Linked DNA regions of Homo sapiens: region 2 is linked to region 1. Evidence: promoter capture Hi-C in 16 types of primary human blood cells and fetal thymus (Javierre and others, 2016). All regions are on one chromosome and are shown on one strand. Each heading gives the region's core, a stretch centred on a gene start or on the middle of the fragment in contact. The rest is flanking DNA. Distances are from core to core; before and after follow the strand shown. Region 1 holds the start of RNF182 (ring finger protein 182). Region 2 overlaps JARID2 (jumonji and AT-rich interaction domain containing 2).

Evidence for each region. Contacts are between HindIII fragments. The CHiCAGO score rates a contact against its expected background, and 5 or more counts as called.
Region 2: a contact is called between a fragment that was not itself captured here and the fragment with the promoter of RNF182 in region 1, in 1 of 17 cell types (total B cells). The highest score is 5.1, in total B cells.

The regions. Positions count from the first base shown.
Region 1 is chr6:13,923,583-13,927,073 of GRCh38, reverse strand. It overlaps RNF182 (ring finger protein 182), which reads right to left and starts at 2,122. Exons shown (of 3, transcript NM_152737.4): 1 at 2,051-2,122. RefSeq lists an enhancer at 2,727-3,227. The HindIII fragment of the contact is 2,801 bases long and covers 1-2,697 here.
Region 2 is chr6:15,442,618-15,445,641 of GRCh38, reverse strand. The region is part of intron 3 of JARID2 (jumonji and AT-rich interaction domain containing 2); the gene reads right to left. Among named protein-coding and RNA genes, the nearest start is that of DTNBP1-AS1, 100 kb to the left of the region's middle. RefSeq lists an enhancer at 618-1,118. The HindIII fragment of the contact is 913 bases long and covers 989-1,901 here.

The sequences.
Region 1 (3,491 bases), core at 873-3,372:
AATGATGCAGCTCTGAAGAAGCCAAACTATATTGAATGTTGTGCCCGTGTGAGCTAGCAGCAAAGGCAAAGCACCGGTCCTTACTGTGCTAAATTCACCATGGATATCTCCGTTCTTCAGCACTCAGATTAAGGGCCACAACATAAATGTTTAGGCTAGAACTCACAGTGTGGGTTTCATCTGGCAGAAAGCACGGACCAAGTCCTTGAACTTGAATACTGGTTTTGCTAACAAAGATCTGAATAAAGCTGTTCTGTTGGTCCCTCAGGAAAAAAAAAAAAACACACACACACACACAAACACACAAAATAATTTATTTTTAGTACAAAACATAAAACTACATTCTCTGTCTATATAATGTGCCTAGGCTTCAATATCCTATTTGCTGTTCATGCTTAAGTGAGAAAATACTTTTCTCTCCCGTTTATCTTCTCAAAACAGATCTACTTCGTTTTAATCAATGTACGATTTTATTACCGTCATGAAAGAGTATTTAGCAGAGCATCTGTGAATCTTCCACAGGTAAAATTCAGTTTAAAAACAAGCCCAATTGTGAAATAACCTGCAAACTGTTAATTGCAACTTCAATCCTTTAGTTTCCAATACAATCTTCTAATGAAGTGGCATTACTTGAAGTTGCTGGCAAATATGAACAGACTGAGAAACCTAGTAATCAGCAGGCTAACAGGTGTTGAAATCCCAAAAGAGGGAAGAGGAATATTAAATAATCACTCTTTGCCTGACACCTCAAGTAGCTGTAATATGCAGAATTCCAATCAACTTAACTGCAATTCAAAATGATCAGTGGTACTGTTTTCATTAATTACTCTCTAGCAAAAATATAATTTCTTGCATTCCATATAGTTCTTTAAATGACCTATTCCAACTTATACATTATTTTACTAAGTTGGATATACAATTTTATATGTTAGATTATTTTCCAGTTATCAATATGACATCTCATATTGTTTAAATATGATTTAAAACAAATCTTATTAACATATATACAATTTCCTTCTGAATTGATCAACTGTATTTCTGAAAATGTATCTGTTTTCTTTCATATTACTACATGTAAGATGATGTCTAAGTACCAAAAAAAAAAGTCTTCACAGTCACAATTTAAATCTGTGCTTCGCGTCTGCAACAAACTATCACGAAATGATTGCAAGGGTTGGGGCCACTGAGAAAGGTACCTATAACCTATCCAGTGCCCCAGTGGCAACCGCATCGTGGTCCTCATCATCCCACTCATAAACACCGATGCAAACACCGCCCAGCTACCTGCCTCCAGAGGTGCTTTGGATTGCCTCCCTACACATAAAAACAAAAGGCACTTTCCAGTTCCTTACAGCATGAACACAATACCTTCTAGAAACAAAAGCAATGACCTCGGTGCCAAGTATCTCCTTGACAAAGTATCGGTACTGCTCTACATTCTGGTCTTGCTAGTCGGGGAAAGCCGGGCTACCCTTACCATCCAGTTATAGGTGCAACTGCACCTTCCAAAGAAAAAAAGGTCTTTCGATTCAATATCCAAACGAACTTCAGAAGCCTCCTCAAAATGCTTCAGCCACAGGCATAAAAATGGGCTCACTTTTCAGAGATTCGTAAAAATCTTTCGCTTGTCCCTCTTACTACCCTCCCAACCCCTCCTCAAAGAGAATGCCATGAAACATGAAAGTCCAAAGGTAAATACTTTCATACCTTTTTTTCCCCCAAAAGCCTCGATGGCACGCCAAGAAGGAAAATAACAACAACAACAGAGGGGCAGCTCCCTGAGCAGGTGCAGCCCGCGCGGGCGCTCCGCAGCCGCCCTCCGCCGCACAGCCCCTCAAGTTGGTGCCAGGACGGCGGCCCCCGTGGTGCCCGGAGGGAGACTCCGCGCGCGGGCCCCGGCGCCGCTCGGCCCGAAGTTTGCCGCCCCCTCTCCTCGGCGCGCTTGGGCGGCCCGGCGCCGTCCAGGACTGCGGGGCTGGCTGCTGCCCCAGCGTTGGGGAGGCCCGGCGTCCCGCCGACCCCTCCCCGGCCGCGGGCGCGATCGCCTTACCTGGCCGGCGGCGGCCCAGGGCCCGGGAGCCGCTCCGGCTGCGGCGGCGCCTGGGAGGGGAGGGAGGTTCCCGTGGAGGAGGAGCTCGCGCGAGGAGCTAGCGGGCTGGCGGGCGGGCGGCTTTGTCTCTACGGCGCTGAGCCGCCGACCCTGCGTCACCATGGCAACCGCCGGGGCCCCCCCGGCCCTTCCCCTCAGCAGTCCGGGTATTCGGAGAGGACAAGGACCCCCGATGGGCCGCCACCACCACAAACACGCCCCTCTCTCAGTCTCCCTCACAAACCGCCTGTTTCTCCCCAGCGAGAGGGGAAGGCTAAAGCGGAGCGAGCCCAGGGCCAAGTGGTATTCGCATCCTAGTAGGCACTCCTTTGCTTCCCCACACTGGACATTCCAACTCCCGTCGCACCACCATCCCCCCCACAGACACCCTCCACCACTACCACCACCACACCTTTCTCCTGTGGAGCTGTACCCTCAAAATGGAAATTCACTTAAGGGAGGAGAAAGAGCAATGCAAAGTGATAAAGTGTTGAGCAACTGGTACTCGGTTCTCCTGTTGCAACTGCCGCAGCATGCACGGAGCTGCCAAGGGACGCCGTGCCGCCTCCTCCCTCTCCCCCTCCTCCTCCTCTCTCTTTTAGCAAGCTTTGCCTCTGCTGGATGTGGTCTCACTCCACCCAACCCGTGTATCTGTCTTGTTGAGGGCTCCCGTAGGAGAGAGGGGAAAGGGGGCTTTATCTCTGATGTAAACACTGGATACACTTGTAACCTCAGAAGCTGAAACACAACTTTCAGGCTGCAGTATGGATCTCAGCTGCTGCCACACTGCGCAGCTACTGGCTGTGACCGCTAAGCATCTACCATGAGCCCTGAGTGACTCTGTGCCAAGGACTGGTCACGTACTGCAGGCCATGGCACTCAGGAGCAGAGAAAAGAAAGCTAACTTTTTCCTCTCCTGAGGAAATTCTTAGAGAGGGAGAGAAAAGTACCAGCAGACCCTTGGTCATGCTTCCTCTAAAGGACGAACTAGAGGGCAGCCTCCATGGGGGGAGTGAGTCATCCCTCCATACTGTTTTCTTGAAAGATCCGTTGCTGAATCCAAAAGCTACAGTGTCTTTCTTCAAACCCTGGGGAACATGACATTTATTTTTTGGCATTTGTGAATCACCAAAGGAATGTCAATGATTTATAATAAAATCCACGGTAGCTGATGTTTTCTGGGTTTACTACTTGAGAAGCCACAAAGCAGAACAATGTTATTGCCATTTGAAGGTACACCTATATTAACTAATGAAAAGATAAGATCTATTTCATGGTGGAAAAGGAAAACAGTTTGTTCCTCGGAGAGACTGGCCACTTTCTTGTAATGGGAATATTCTGAATGAAGTCAATAATATTCCAGATGAAGTCAAAAGACAAGGTCTTTTTGGCAGGCCATTAA
Region 2 (3,024 bases), core at 196-2,695, 1.5 Mb before region 1:
ACACACCTCATGCAACAAGACCACCACATACATCAGAGAGTATTTGTACTTCCTGATCAAGCTGCATGAGCTCGAAGGGGGAAAGATCCCTATTGTCCTTTCCCCATCCATCCACTCCCTAAGCTACATGGAAGGTGACTTTCTTTTTCTGCTAAGCCTCCCACAGCCACCTCTCACTTGCTGTTAGGTATCACCGCTTAAAAATTTACCAAAATCAATCTTCATTGTTTGTTGTTAAAATAAAATATATAGCACCTTTATGAGAACGAAGGAGCACAGCAAGATACACACTAACATTATTTGGAAAGTTAACCAATAAATCACGAGACCATGCTTGTAAAGAAACCCCAGGGATGAACTAACAGTCCTATGCCAAATACTTTTTTCTTTTGTAATACCCTCCCTGTGCCCCTTCCTCCCCAAATGATTGATTTAGAAGCTTCCTGGGCATCCTGCCATTAGAAGCTTCACACAAGGGTGGCACTGTTTCTCCAGGTTTCCTCTGGGGTCATCAACAGTGTAGAGTTAACCAGCTTATTGCTATCTGTGCACTCAATCTCTAGGGTAGCCCTGACTGCGGCACAACAGCAATTTCCAGGTTAATTAAATCCTATTTCTGTCCAGGATTTCTGATAGCCTGCAAACCCAAGAAGGGCATGGCGTGACACACAAATCAGCTGGATCAAGCAGGAGCAAGGGGGACCAGGCGGCTTAAAGTGAATGCACAGCTGTTCCCTTGCTGAGGGAAGTACATGCCAAAACATCATTTTATTAACTCAATTTTCCAATATTAAAAACGTAAGCTGGTAAATCCAATTATTTAGATTACATCCCAATTCTAAACAAAGGGCAAGGAAAGGGTGGGAGGGAGGGTCTGTTCATTCAAAAAAAAAAAAAAAAAAAAAATCAGACAGTTCGTGTCTGGCAAATGCAAAATGACCGGCATGGCTGCGCTCTTTGTGCCGGTGTGGGAGCTGGCCCTGAAGCTTTGCCAACTTGCTGAAAGGCCTATTCAAAAAAAAAAAAAATTTCCTGTGTTTCCATCCCCAAAATAATTACCCACTCCATTCGCCCCCCAGACACACACACTACAAACCTGGCAGCCACTCAAAGAAACAAGAGTGTGCCCGTGTGTGTGCGCACTGGAGGTTGTGGGGGGTCGGGCAAGGGATACCCTCTACCCAGGGCAAGCTGCCCACCAAATTCAAATGCAAGTGCGGTTGCGAGCAAACCACACAGAATGGTTGTAAACATCCTGAACAGTAAAGAGAAAATAAACACATCCTCAAGTGAACCCAGAGGCTAGCAGAGACCAATTCATAGCAAACTCTGTAATGAGAGGCACTAGCATAGACCATATCCTTCTAAGCGCAAGGTCCACCCAGTTCCCACAGTTTTAAACGGTCAGGGTTTGATTTACCAGAATGGGAGGGCATCACACAATGACAAAACGGGAGGTCAGCTGGCTCTGTAAGCAGAGTTATCCTACGCAGAATGCCTGCTTTATGGTACTTCTGGAGATGGAGCCCTAGTGGTCCACAGCCTCATTTCTTGCTTTACACATAAACTGATGGAACACTTTGTTTATGCAAAAAACCGCAGGATATTAAATATTTGCAGCACTTGTCTTAATTAAGTTACATAGGAAGCTATTTAGAATAAACATTTGCCATAGCCGGAATTTGCGTAAAGAAATCTTTTGTTAGTTGAATTCCCCTCAAGATGAAACATTATGATGTTTTGCTTGGTCAGTGGTACAAGCAAAAGAGTAGTGGTGTCACAAAACCTGAGTTTAGTTCACCTAACTTGTCACCTAGGGCAAGCTGGGTCTTTTTTTCTTAGGTGGTTTTTTTAAGGACTATTTTAAAAAGGGAAGCTAAGGCTCTCTCTAGCTCCAAGCTTCTGTGATCTTTGACCTCCTCTTAAAAAAACAAGTGGTACCTGAATGTAGTAATTTCTGTAATAAATCTTTTGGATCTATCATTTCGTAAGAGTAGATGAAAAGTCCTGATTATTTTGGAGAAGTAAAATCTAAATCTCCAAACTGTCAGTATTGCTAAAGATTTCTAGCGCCAACTTTCTAACTGCCAGTAAAACAGCAAAATATACTGACTTTTAAAGTGCTAGTACTACCACCTAGCACTTTAGAAGGTGGAGGGGAAGGTGAAAAATTCATTCATATATATTTTAGAAAGATATCACAATTCCAAAAATCCACTCCCCTACTCCCTTAAAGATTAAATAGTAGCAATACAATCTGTAATCTGCATTTCCTTCCACTTAGCCCTTCCAATGAGGAGTAACTCATTTAGGCAACACGTTAACTTACTTCAGAACTGTGAGTCACCCTTAGGAACGCTGACATAACTACTTAAAAATATATTCATCAGCTCTATCCATGAAGAAGCCAGCCCAAGGACAAGGCAAGCCTTGCAAATCCAAACATCACCACCACATCAGGAAGACACCATTCTTGCTCGCAGACACTTCACTCCCTTGGAATACTAAAGTGGAAAACAGGCATCAGAGAGAAAGGTGAATCTTTTTTTTTTTTAATTCCAGGGAAGGATTAGGGGGGTAGGAAAGAGGAGGAAAAAAATTAAAAAATCGAAGATAATAGCACTAAATATCTACAAGATATGAACTTTTTCCCAAATAAAACATGACTTGGTGCATATAAATCTCAGGTAGCTGGTGACATCCTGCACAAACAGTATGAAAAGTAATATGCAGTACAGTTTTTTATTCAATTAATAAAATTATTCAATTATGTTTCTTGAAATCTTCTATGGCATCCTGAAATGTCAGAGAACCAAGACTGCCTGAAAATCATGACTGTCATGATCAAGGAAACATCTGACATTGACTTCTTTTGTGTTCTAGAAAGCAACCGTGTCAAATTTGAGAGGGATCATCATTAATCAACAATTAAAGTGGCAACAAAGCCCTTTTGTTCTGTCAGTCACAAATGACACAGTTATAGTTTACCACCTATGGAAGGCTGTCTGCGCCGCCATCCCCACA